Linked DNA regions of Homo sapiens: all the other regions are linked to region 3. Evidence: promoter capture Hi-C in human tissues and cell types (Jung and others, 2019). All regions are on one chromosome and are shown on one strand. The core of a region is centred on a gene start or on the middle of the fragment in contact, and the rest is flanking DNA. Distances in the headings are between cores, read along the strand shown.

Evidence for each region. Contacts are between HindIII fragments. The study calls those that stand out against the background at their distance.
Region 1: a contact is called between a fragment that was not itself captured here and the fragment with the promoter of FOXQ1 in region 3, in 1 of the 25 tissues and cell types used here (IMR-90 fibroblasts).
Region 2: a fragment that was not itself captured here is called in contact with the fragment with the promoter of FOXQ1 in region 3 in 1 of the 25 tissues and cell types used here (lymphoblastoid cells).
Region 4: a fragment that was not itself captured here is called in contact with the fragment with the promoter of FOXQ1 in region 3 in 1 of the 25 tissues and cell types used here (lymphoblastoid cells).

What each region holds. Positions count from the first base shown.
Region 1 is chr6:1,020,595-1,023,859 of GRCh38, forward strand. The region is part of intron 1 of LINC01622 (long intergenic non-protein coding RNA 1622); the gene reads right to left. Among named protein-coding and RNA genes, the nearest start is that of LINC01622, 79 kb to the right of the region's middle. The HindIII fragment of the contact is 4,755 bases long and covers 1-3,265 here.
Region 2 is chr6:815,852-819,091 of GRCh38, forward strand. No RefSeq gene overlaps it. Among named protein-coding and RNA genes, the nearest start is that of EXOC2, 120 kb to the left of the region's middle. The HindIII fragment of the contact is 7,865 bases long and covers 1-3,240 here.
Region 3 is chr6:1,310,800-1,313,878 of GRCh38, forward strand. It overlaps FOXQ1 (forkhead box Q1), which reads left to right and starts at 1,299. Exons shown (of 1, transcript NM_033260.4): 1 at 1,299-3,079. The coding sequence starts at 1,906. RefSeq lists an enhancer at 1,753-2,469. The HindIII fragment of the contact is 14,044 bases long and covers 1-3,079 here.
Region 4 is chr6:943,628-946,681 of GRCh38, forward strand. No RefSeq gene overlaps it. Among named protein-coding and RNA genes, the nearest start is that of LINC01622, 160 kb to the right of the region's middle. The HindIII fragment of the contact is 3,955 bases long and covers 1-3,054 here.

The sequences.
Region 1 (3,265 bases), core at 724-3,223, 290 kb before region 3:
AGGATCACACCCTTGGTCATCGTGTTCTTCTCATCCAAGCTTGCTGAGAGCACCCATTTACCTCTACGGTGGAACCCGGGTATACCAGGAGGCACCCGAGTGGAGCCCTAGGCATGTTCCTCCCTGCCCCACTGTGTACAAGCAGCCACAGCTCCTCTCAATGACCAGGGTCCATTTCCTCAGCCACCTCCTGAGGACAGCTCCGGAAGCAGGGTTACTTGGTGTCTCACAGTCAAGTAGCCTGCCTTCACCAAGGCCAGCAGCACCCAAGAAACATTTCTCAAGGCTGCCTAATCCTCTGTTGCAGATGGCAAGGCCTTGCTCCCGCATCCCAGGAGCCTGTGTTGTGGCTCTTCTGTGGAACTACTGGAAGCTCCAAGCTGCCTCTGATCCCTACTGATGCCTCCAGCACCATAGGGTCTGCAAGATTGTGTGGCCCCAGCAGTAGGGATGAATGCACCACAGCTTGGACCCACAGCACAGCCCTTTCCTGCCCACCACGGTATACCTGGAAGCCTTCTGTGTCACACACAATCTAGGAATGGGATGAGTTGCCACCAGAACCCAGGCACCATGCTTACTTCTTTGTAGTAGTTAATGCAAAATGCAGTGACTTATCTTTCACTGTGGAGCAAAATCCTCGCACTCCTTAATTTCTGGCCCCTAAAATCTTCACTGGAGTGGTCAACTCCCGAGTCTTTGCAGGGTTTACCCCCTACCTGCAGCATCACATGTGTCTTCCTTACTCTCTCAGTGCATGAGCCCCCTCTTGTTTCTTTCGTTCAGTCTGCATGAAGTCATTGATCATTACAGTATTCTACAGTTAGGCCAAGCAGTCCAGGACTGCTCATGCTGTGCCTAGTGTTGGTTCGTGGGTTCGTGGTCTCATCTTGCTGACTTCAAGAATGAAGCAGCAGACCTTCACGGTGAGTGTTACAGCTCTTAAAGAAGGCATGGACCCAAAGAGAGAGCAGTAGCAAGATTTATTGTGAAGAGTGAAAAAACAAAGCTTCCACAGGTGGAAAGGAACCTGAGTGTTGCCACTGCGGCTGGGGTGGCCAGCTTTTATTCCCTTATTTGTCTCTGCCCATCTTCTGTTTTTGTCCTATCAGAGTGCCCTTTTTTCAATCTTCCCTGTGATTGGCTACTTTTAGACTCCTGCTGATTGGTCCATTTTACAGAGCACTGATTGGTGCATTTTACAAACCTCTTGCTAGCTACAGAGCACTGATTGGTGCGTTTTTACAGAGTGCTGATTGGTGCATTTTACAATCCCTTTGTAAGACAGAAAAGTTCTCCAAGTCCCCACTGGACCCAGGAAGTCCAGCTGGCTTCACGTCTCAATGCCAAGAGGCACAGAGTTCATACAGCACTGTGGTTAAATTAGCAGTGCATATCATCAGTCCTATGTGAGCTGTTTCTGGTCCTCTTTTCCAAATGGAATGGTCGAGCATGCACTGGCAAACTAAGAGGCACATGCCCCGTTCTTGGTGCTTTGCTAATCTGCTCTAATGGTGTGATCTGGGCTACTGCTAGGTTAAGTCTGGTAGTAGTGGTAGTCGACATTCGTTCTCTGGGATCCATAGAGTTTCTGCAGGGGCCAGCCTGACAATTCGATGGAGCAGTGATCGGTACCAACACTGTGCACCCTTTAGGTCCTTAATGGTGGACTTCAGTCTGCCTTTCTTTCCCATCTCCTGCCAAGATTCAGCGAGGTTGAGGGGGCAGCTTCGGGGGTTTTCACCTTTTCCAATTGGCCTTTCCCACTATGATAGCTCTTATCCCACAAACCAAGAACCCTAATGTGGGCGTAGTTCCACCTGCTCTGTAGCTCTTGTCTAACAGTCCACTGAAGAACTGGGAAAGACCACTGCTGAAGCCACAGACCCAGCAGGCCCACTGCGAGCTGGACAACAGCCAGATCCAGTAATGACTTGGCCCCCAGGTCCCCTACTCTACCGGGAAAGCCAAGATGACTCTGTGGAATCTCTAGGTATCCCTGGAAATTCAGACCTTGTGTCCAATAGTCTTTGAAATGTCAGGTAATTCCCCCTACCCAGATTAAAGTCACATGAGTAAATGGCCTTAGGTGCCCTTGAGGAAGGACTGGGGGAATGCTCATATGCTGGCCACCATGCTGCAGGAATCTGTATTTGCAGGACAAGCCAGCTCTTCAGTCAATGGGTTTCAAGTCTGAAATTGGGTATGCCTGGGGACTGAGCAGGAGGCTTTGTCTTGGTTGCGGAGAGGCAGTCCTCAGCCTGCCGCTTCTTCCTTCTTTACCATTACTATTACAGGCATGGGGTGGCACCCTTGTGGGCCTATCTGAGGCTAAGAACAATCTGCTGTATCAGCCATCCCCAAACTCCCTGCAGCTCAGGCCCCCTTGGCCACCCCTCCAACCTTCCTATTCATCATTGTTGTGGCCTCTGGTTTCTAGCCCCCATTACTTTGGGGCCCCATCATCCCCAAAAAGACCCAGTCTTCCAAGAGCCACCCCAGGAGCTTTGCTTCATTTCTTGACATCCTGTCTACAATGTTAAATCTTATATTCTGAAAAAAATTACTTCTAACTATTGCTTATCTGATTTACAGTCTGATCAAACACCCTCAAAATCCAATCCCAGGCATACTCCCTTAGCTCCCATGTGGACACATGCCAGCTGGCCTTTCCATTATTGGGATGAAAAGTCTTTTCCTCCCCTCTCAAGCCCAGCATATTCTCAGCTGGGTTCTGTTGGGATTGAAGCCTAGCTGTGCCCTGGCCTCCTAGAGGGGAGGATGCCTGTTGCTTGTTGGGGAAGCTTCTGCGCTTGTACTAGGATATGGCGGGGCCACCTCTGCAATTTCAGAGGACTCACAGGGACTGTAGAGTCAGCGTCCACAGGGAACGCCATGCAGAGGTTTCCCCACCAAGGTTCTGCCTCACAGATCACAGAAATGCCTGGACTGAGCACCCACACATCTCCAGAGCTCTGACACTTTCACAAGTACCTGCTGCTCAACTGCATCTGCCCACCCATGCCAGGTGATGAGGGTCCCTTCAGAAGCTATCCTTGAAGCTCTCTGGCTCTCACACTTGACCATTAACTGCTAGTTAATACATCCCAGACTCCTTTTCCTTCTGCAGTACATGAATTCAGCTTTGCAATAACCAGTCAACTGTGCTGTCTTGTAGACATTGTTCCCCCAATATTTTCCAAATGCTTCCATCATTGCACCTGTCTCTGCATTATCCTCCACTGAGCGGTGTTTCAAGGCCCAC
Region 2 (3,240 bases), core at 714-3,213, 490 kb before region 3:
CCTAATGATTGCAAGTCATCAATAATCCCACAGTTAGTGAGACGTCTTTGTGGGGGTTTGTACAGTTCTAATCACTTTATAAAAATAATGGAGAGAGTTTGGGCCTATGAAACATACTGTCTGAGCAGGGAGATAACACGCACACACACACACACACACACACACACACACAGACTTAAATATCTAGGCTGGGCGTGGTGGCTCACGCCTGTAATACCAGCACTTTGGGAGGTTGAGACGGGTGGGAGGTCAAGAGATCGAGACCATCCTGGCCAACATGGTGAAACCTCGTCTCTACTAAAAATACAAAAATTAGCTGGGCGTGGTGGCACTTGCCTGTAATCCCAGCTGCTTGGGAGGCTGAGGCAGGAGAATCACTTGAACCCAGGAGGCGGAGGTGGCAGTGAACCGAGATCAAGCCACTGCACTCCAGCCTGGTGACAGAGCAAGACTCCGTCTAAAAAAAAAAAAGATTTCAATATCTGTGTAAGATCTTAGCGTTAAAAAAAAATCAGGTGCTACGAGTTATAAGTTCCGTAGTGCAGAAGAAGAAATGTTTGCTGGGAACCTCAGGAAGGCTTCTTGTTCCAGTATTTTGTCCTGCCTGGTTAGCGTGTGAAAGCCAGCCAATGAAAGGAGGCCTGCTGCTCATCAGTGTCGGCCAACGATGCTTCCTATCAAGCACGTCTTTTCATTCTGATGCTTTGACATCTGGGGCCTTGCTGACCCTGGAAGGGATGGCCTCTCCCAGGGTTCACTAGTTCCTAGAGACAGTAAAGTGAGTGCACCTTTTAACTGCAAACCGACCAGCCCAGAGTCCACATTCCAGCCACCTCCTTTATAGGTTCTCACACTCCAGGCCACTATCCCTCTGCCCTAATCATCCCAGGGCCAGGTAACAGGCAGCTAGAGACAGCCGTGTGCCCAAGCCCACTGAGATTACGCAAACTGCCCAGTCCTAAAGCTGCTTGCCCGCCTCTTCTGTTCCTTCCTGCTGATACCACAATAGAGGCTCATGTCACAATTTCCCCTCACTCCGCCTCCTGCACTTCCCTGTGTGGCCCGTGTGGTGTGTTGCATGTGATGTGTGCTGCCCTCTCCCCTTCGGAACTGTGAATAACAAACTGTCTTCTCAATGACAGTCATCGAGTCATCTTCTGATCTGCTGGCCTCACCATACCTGAATAAGAATAAAACCCACATTTTAAAACCTACCTTTTTCCTGCTGCCTTCGAACACAGTCTGTCTCTGTGTGTGTGTGTGTGTGTGTGTGTGTGTGTGTGTATGTGTGTATTTCAGCTCCCAGCAAGCTTTCTAATGTATTAAAGTGAAGGTGGGGTATTGTAAAGTGTTTTTAGGTAGCTTTGATATTTTTAGGCCATCTACTTTTCTTTCATAGACTTTTCCATTTCGCTTTTAACATCTTGTCTTTATAAAGTATTTTTTAAAAACTTTATTTTGAGATAACTGTACATGCAGTTGTAAGAAATAATGCAGTTAGATCCCACATATCCTTCATCCAGTTTCCCCCAGTGGTAACATTTTGAAAAACTACGTTCAATATCACAACCAGGAAAATGACACTGGTGCAATCTGCCAACCCCACTCAGATTTCCCTGGCTCTACGTGTGTGTGTGTGTGTGTGTGTGTGTGTGTGTGTGTGTGTGTGTGTGTATGTCCATCACATGGGCAGATCCTGTGGGCACCACAGTCCAGATGCAAAGCAGAGAGCAGCTCCCCACAGGGATCCCGTGTGCTGCCCTTTTATAACCACTACCAACTTCTACCCAACCCCTCCCTAGTCCTTGGCAGCCACTAACCTGTTCTCCTTCTCCATAATTTTCTCATTCAGACATGTTAAATAAGCTGTTATATAAGTGGAATCATACGATATGCCACCTTTTGGTGTTTTTCTCCCACTCAGGATGCTTCCCTTGAGATGCCTCCAAAGTGCTGTGTATATCAGAACGTTGTTCCTTTTCATTGCTGAGTAGCGTTCCATGGTGTGGATGTGCCAGGGTGTGGACACTGTAACAGGACATTACAACAACAAATATATGGTTGTTTAAATCATACACTTGCCACCTGTATTAGTCCCAAGACTCCACATTCATTAACTCAAATATTCTTATCTCCCGTGGCTGCCATGTGACATCCCCCTGTTCCTACCCCGTCAAAGCTCTCCTGTCACTTTCAAAGAGAATCTATCTCTAAAATCGGAGGACAAACCTCTCTGTAACCTCAGGATAGTTAATCGTTTTCTGTGCACCTCATTCCTGGGGATAATTACTCATTTTCTGTGCACCTCATTCCTGGGGATAATTACTCATTTTCTGTGCACCTCATTCCTGGAGATAATTACTCATTTTCTCTTTGCTTCATTTTCCCCTTCTATATATGGAACTAGCAAGTATTTCTATTTCTAATGTTGAAAAGGTTAATGTGATCACTTGTGTTTACACAGCCTGAGACAGGTTATATAAATTATTCAGACTATGTATGTGTGAGTCACCTCTCTCCCTCAACTAGACCTAAAGCAATAGGTGATCAAAAATAGCTTCATCAGCAGAACGCCACCTTTTCCCAGCCAGGCCCTGTTCCCTGTAGCACTTAGTTCTCAGAATCCTGCCTTTCCAGGGGTCCAGGGCTTAGACTTTGTCCAGGAACAAACCGCTTGAAGTTGGCAGACAATTATTCATTATCAGCTCCTTAAGAAGGAATTAACTGGACCTGCACAGGATTGGACTTGTAACTCAATTACGACATTAATTTAAAAGGTGACTTGATAAAGGCCAGGCAGAGGCCACATGAATTCCCCTTTCTGGCTAAAATTTTGCCTGTATCCTGGACTCTGTGCTTACTACATCTTATTTTTATTCCTCTAAGTACCAAAAAAGAATGCTTATGCATTTATAGCCATCATCATAGAATTATCAGAATTTTAGACTTGTTGGAATTTCAACCAGACCAACCTCTGGATGTCCCAAGCTGAACTATTGCTGTCTGAACACTGTGGTTCCTTAGCCACAGCTTCAGGGCAATGGCATCCCTTCTGCTGGGCTCAGGGTCTCTGTACCCAGTACGATTGACCCTGCTGCCTGGGTTGTAGCAGGAATATGATTTTGAAACTTTTCCCGTTGATTTTGATGATCATGCAGGTAGGGGATCTCTGTCCTAGGGGGCACTGCAGGAAAGCCCCTTCCAAGTCTTTGCCTCCTTAAAATAAGCAGGGTCAGGAAA
Region 3 (3,079 bases), core at 49-2,548:
AAATAAACATCAAAGGTGAGCTCCCACCTACTAGCGGCTCCGTCGCTTTTTGTGCAACAAAGGCAGGAAAAAGGAGGAAACTCGGCGTGGCAGGGCAGCGGGCTGGAAGTGCACCTTCCCGGGGCCGAGGCGCCCGCTCCCTGGACTAATGACGCCGCGTGGGGATCACGCCCCGGGCGCCCTGGGGTGAGGAACGGTCCCCCCTTTCGAGATTGTCCGACACTGGTGCCAGTGAGGTCACAGCAAAAGTCCCAAAGGAATATTGGAAAGAAATGGCCGTGAACCGGTTTGTTCTTGCCCCCGCCCCCGGGAACACGCCCTCTCCGTCGTTCCTGTTGACTGTCAGATCCCGGGAACCAAGCGGCGGAGCTCGGCGGCATCTGAGGCTTCCGCAGGGACACAAGTGCAGGCACAGCCCAGCACCCTGCGCCAGACACAGCCGCCCCAGGGGAAGAGGAGGACGCTGCTGTCCTCCCGCAGGAGTCACCAGCCAGGTAAAGAAAAAGGTAAAGTAAGACAAAGAAAAGTGAAAGTCGGAGCCCATTTAGTGAGCAAGAGTAAAGGTCATCCAAAAAGGCGCATACAATTTCAAGCCCAGGAGTGCATTCATTAAAACAAGAGGAAAAGACAAGATGGTCCTTGAAAGGAGCTCATAGGAAGGGGCACAGCACAAGGCTCCCGAAAGAGGTCACTGCAAGTGTCCTGCGCAATTTCTGTTCAGCACCTCTGCAGTGACGACAGGGGTTTGCTTTCGTAAGCAGCATCGTTTTCACTACTACAGAAGCACATACGCCGCGTGCAGCTTAGGCCCGAGCAAAGTCCCTGCTCCCCTAGACCCAGTCCCTTCAGGTGTCCCCCTAGGGGAACTGTGGCGTGTCCCCCCAACCAGGCGCACTCGCCTAAACTGCGTCCCCGAACTCCAGGGCGCAGGGAGCCCTCGCGGGCTGCCCGGGGCTGGGGCCCACACCTGAACGGAGGAGCCGGCTGGCGGAGCGGCCCCGCGCGCGCACACACGCACACTCACAGACACGCGCAAACCCACAGCGGCGCGCGCGCTCCCCATTGGCGGGAGGAGGAAGGCGGGGCCGGCCGACCCAAAACAAACAACCTGCGCCAGCGACTTTGCCGCCGCGCTGCAGTGTGGCCTCCGCCTGGTGCGCGCCCGTTGGGGAGCTGGGGAACTGGGGAGCCGCCACCACCTCGGCCACCTCGTTCCCCCACCCCTTGCCGTCCGCGCTCAGGCCCCGCCCCCGCGGAGCCGCCGCAGGGTTATATTGGGCCGGCCCGAAGGTGGAGGCGAGACGCAGCCGCGGCAGGCCAGCGGGGAGATGCTGCCCCGGAGGCTGGGAGCGGGAAGGCGGCTGCGGGCGCAGCGGCCTCGGGGACTCGCCTCCGCGGGTGCTCAAGGCTGAAGGCGCCGGACCTTCCCCCACGGTGGCACGCACATCATCCGGCACCATTTCCGTGCCCCGAAGACGCCCGCGCGGGACCTGGGACCGCCAGTGAAGAACCCCTCCTGGGCTCTTTAACGAGCAGCAGATGCGCATGCTGCTTCTCTCCGGCAGGAAAGCCTTCTAAGCCCGGCGTGCTCGGGCACCCGAGGGTGGAACCGCGGCCCCTGCACACACTCACCCCAAAGTCTCAACGTCGAACCGAAGGCGACACCCACCCAACTCCTCCCTCTCCGCCCCATAGTCCACCCAACACTTGCAGCCCCTCCAGAGAAAAAGCCCAGCGGAAGAGGACTCCGGAAAAGTGACTATCTCGGAAGACCAGGGTAGAGCTCCCGGGAGAAAAAGGCGAAGATCCCCGGCCCCGGATCGCCATCCCCTTCCCTGGCACCAGCTTCTCTAGGCTGCGCGAAGGAAGAGGGTACGACGCCGGGGAGGGACTGGGTGCGCGGGCATGAAGTTGGAGGTGTTCGTCCCTCGCGCGGCCCACGGGGACAAGCAGGGCAGTGACCTGGAGGGCGCGGGCGGCAGCGACGCGCCGTCCCCGCTGTCGGCGGCGGGAGACGACTCCCTGGGCTCAGATGGGGACTGCGCGGCCAACAGCCCGGCCGCGGGCGGCGGCGCCAGAGATACGCAGGGCGACGGCGAACAGAGTGCGGGAGGCGGGCCGGGCGCGGAGGAGGCGATCCCGGCAGCAGCTGCTGCAGCGGTGGTGGCGGAGGGCGCGGAGGCCGGGGCGGCGGGGCCAGGCGCGGGCGGCGCGGGGAGCGGCGAGGGTGCACGCAGCAAGCCATATACGCGGCGGCCCAAGCCCCCCTACTCGTACATCGCGCTCATCGCCATGGCCATCCGCGACTCGGCGGGCGGGCGCTTGACGCTGGCGGAGATCAACGAGTACCTCATGGGCAAGTTCCCCTTTTTCCGCGGCAGCTACACGGGCTGGCGCAACTCCGTGCGCCACAACCTTTCGCTCAACGACTGCTTCGTCAAGGTGCTGCGCGACCCCTCGCGGCCCTGGGGCAAGGACAACTACTGGATGCTCAACCCCAACAGCGAGTACACCTTCGCCGACGGGGTCTTCCGCCGCCGCCGCAAGCGCCTCAGCCACCGCGCGCCGGTCCCCGCGCCCGGGCTGCGGCCCGAGGAGGCCCCGGGCCTCCCCGCCGCCCCGCCGCCCGCGCCCGCCGCCCCGGCCTCGCCCCGCATGCGCTCGCCCGCCCGCCAGGAGGAGCGCGCCAGCCCCGCGGGCAAGTTCTCCAGCTCCTTCGCCATCGACAGCATCCTGCGCAAGCCCTTCCGCAGCCGCCGCCTCAGGGACACGGCCCCCGGGACGACGCTTCAGTGGGGCGCCGCGCCCTGCCCGCCGCTGCCCGCGTTCCCCGCGCTCCTCCCCGCGGCGCCCTGCAGGGCCCTGCTGCCGCTCTGCGCGTACGGCGCGGGCGAGCCGGCGCGGCTGGGCGCGCGCGAGGCCGAGGTGCCACCGACCGCGCCGCCCCTCCTGCTTGCACCTCTCCCGGCGGCGGCCCCCGCCAAGCCACTCCGAGGCCCGGCGGCCGGCGGCGCGCACCTGTACTGCCCCCTGCGGCTGCCCGCAGCCCTGCAGGCGGCCTCAGTCCGCCGCCCTGGCC
Region 4 (3,054 bases), core at 390-2,889, 370 kb before region 3:
AATAGGTGGTAAGAAGTTGATGGAACATCCACAGCAGTGATTTTTCCCTAAATTTATATTAGACTAGCAATAAATATAACAGGCCCCAAGGAAATCTACATTTACCTTTGGTGAAAGACTATTTTTTCATTGCACTTATCCTAAATAAGCCAATTAACTGATCATTAGCAGGTGGGTAACTTCTGCAATTTAAAAGTAGAGTTCATTAAACTTGAAATCAATTGAATGGTATTGATATTTATTTTTAAAAAACAATATTTATAAAATCCAAACTATAGTACATTAAAAAATATCCATGCATTTCATGTAGTAAGATTAAATGCTTTTTAATGAAATACTTGTTCCAGTTTATATAGGCAAGGCCTCTGGGCATGTCTGCTGAGCTGCATTTAAAATATACTGGTGACTGGGCTGGGCATGGTGGCTCACACCTGTAATCTCAGCACTTTGGGAGGCCAAGGCAGGTGGATCATGAGGTCAGGAGATCAAGACCATCCTGCCTAATACGGTGAAACCCCATCTGTACTAAAAATACAAAAAAAATTAGCTGGGCGTGGTGGTGGGTGCCTGTAGTCCCAGATACTCAGGAGGCTGAGGCAGGAGAATGTCGTGAACTCAGGAGGCGGATCTTGCAGTGAGCTGAGATCATGCCACTGCACTCCAGCCTGGGTGACAGTGTGAGACGCCTTCCCCACCCCCCAAAAAAGTATTGGTGACCATGGGGGATTTCAGTCAAAAAATGTTGAAAGCCACTCCTCTGAGCATATGTTGAGAACCTACTGTGATCCAGGCTCTGTGGCAAGATCAAAGGCCTTAAAAGCTCAGCTGTGCTTTCGAGCAAGCTCAGTGGGCATAAGGAAATGACAAGGAAATGTCAAGTATCCTCTCAGGAAAAGAAGAAAGCATGACAGAGGCACAAGGGTTGATATGATGGGCCTCCTTGGCAGGATTGGGAAAGGAAAGGTCCCTGGGAATGGGTTTTCTGAGCTGGGCAATTCAAGATGGAGAGGAATGGTAGGACAACTCCAGAAAAATATTTACATTACATAGTGAATATGTAGTTTATATATTGACTTTGCCACACTCCAGACATTCTGGTTACATTTGAACTTTCTTTAGGGCACCTGATCTTACACCAGTTTCCTTTGGATTGACTTCCAGGATCATCTCCTGAAGTCCCAAGAGCTAGAGCTGTCCAGGAATTAAGTTGGTGCCTGTGATATCATAAAGACATATTCTTTGGACCATAATAGATTTTTCTTATAAACGTCAAATATCTCCTTGTACTTAAAGAAATTTAAACAATTGTCTTCCACAAACCTAGTTTTCCTTGCCATTTAATGTTTGCAGTGATATTAAGAACCATTCTCTGACTGAAGTAATGTGGTGATACCATAGTCTTTGCTTCCAAATAAATATGTTACCAAAAAACTACTTCTGTTTCACAACCAGTATTACTCAGTCCTTAAACCTGTCAAGCACAGTGTCATTAGTCTTCTGTACTGCTATAAGCTTTGTTTTGCATGTCATCCTAATAGAAGAAACCCTCAGGCAGTATTTAAGGCTATTACTGTTGATTAAGTTCTGTAGAAGTGGATGTGGATGTGAATGCAAAAATTGGAGCTGTCAGATTGAGAGCGATTACCATGGGTAGGGCCTATTGGTATGGTTCAAAAGATGTATACTATTACACCAAAGACATGGACTGAAGGTTACCATCCTCAGAAAGTGAATACTCATCTATCTACTCTCAAATGGATGAATGGCAATTTCTAGCAGGTAAAATGTTGTCTTTGGTATACCTCAAAGTATTGCTTCTTCAAAGCAAAACAAACAACTTCAAGACTTAAGGGGATTTTGTATATTCATAGATAAATTAGTCTATAAGATTGCATAAAATATATACATTATCTTAAAATAGCTATTTATAATCTGACTCTCTGAACTGTGACTACTTTATACAGGCTTTCTTCCAACTGATTGTCACTGTGGTATGATTTTGACATTTGATTTTAGTCAAAAGGTGTTTTTGGGGGGCTGTGAACTTCTCCACAAGTTTTTGTCATGAAACATGCCTAACAAAGAGAATGGCTGTTAAAAGAATGGCACAATGAATACCAAGTTAACTTTCATTCAGATTCATATTTAGCTATCTATGTATACACACAGATATATATGTATAAATACATGTAAATGTGTAAATATATAAATATAACATGATCAAAATATATTTATTATATAAAATATATTTTTAAAATAACATAAATAAAATATTTAAATACAAATATGATTATAAAGTGTTAAATTATAAATATATATGGCCACATGTTTTAAAATAAATTTAGCCATCGTGATATTTCACCCCTAATTATACTAGCATTTGTTTTAAAAGAACAACATCCTATATAACTGTGATACCATTATTATATCTAAGAAAACAATAATTCCATAGAAATAATTTCATAATATCTAGCACGCAGTACATACTCAAATTTCTGCAAGTGTTTCAATAATGTTTTTTATAATAATTGTTTATTTCTTAAACCAGGATCCAATCAAGTGTCACACATTGCAATTTGTTGTTATGTCTCTTTAGCCTTTGTTTCAAATTGTCAGCACTGTCCACATATGCAATTTTAAATCTTCTAATAACCACATTAAAAAGGAAAAAGAAACAGTTGAAATTAATTTCAAGCCTATATTGCTTTAATGCAGCCTCTCTAAAACTTGATGATTTTAACATGTAATCAAAATAAACATATTAATAAAAGATTGTACATTCTTTTTTTTTTCATGATAAATCTTCAGAATCTGGCACATTTGACCTTTGCCGTGGATGTCAGTGAGGACCAGCTGTGTTTGCCTCTTAACAGCCACCCACGGCTGGTGGTAATGCGAATCTTCCCAGCTTCTTATTTTCATGATAGGATCCCTCAGCTTTTAAAGAGTGCTATTTTTCTGCATTTTACTTTTCAAACCAAATTCAAGGAAGAAAAGTAATGTTCTTATTAGAGAAATAAACAACACACTTTAATTTCAAGATTTGAGGAAGCT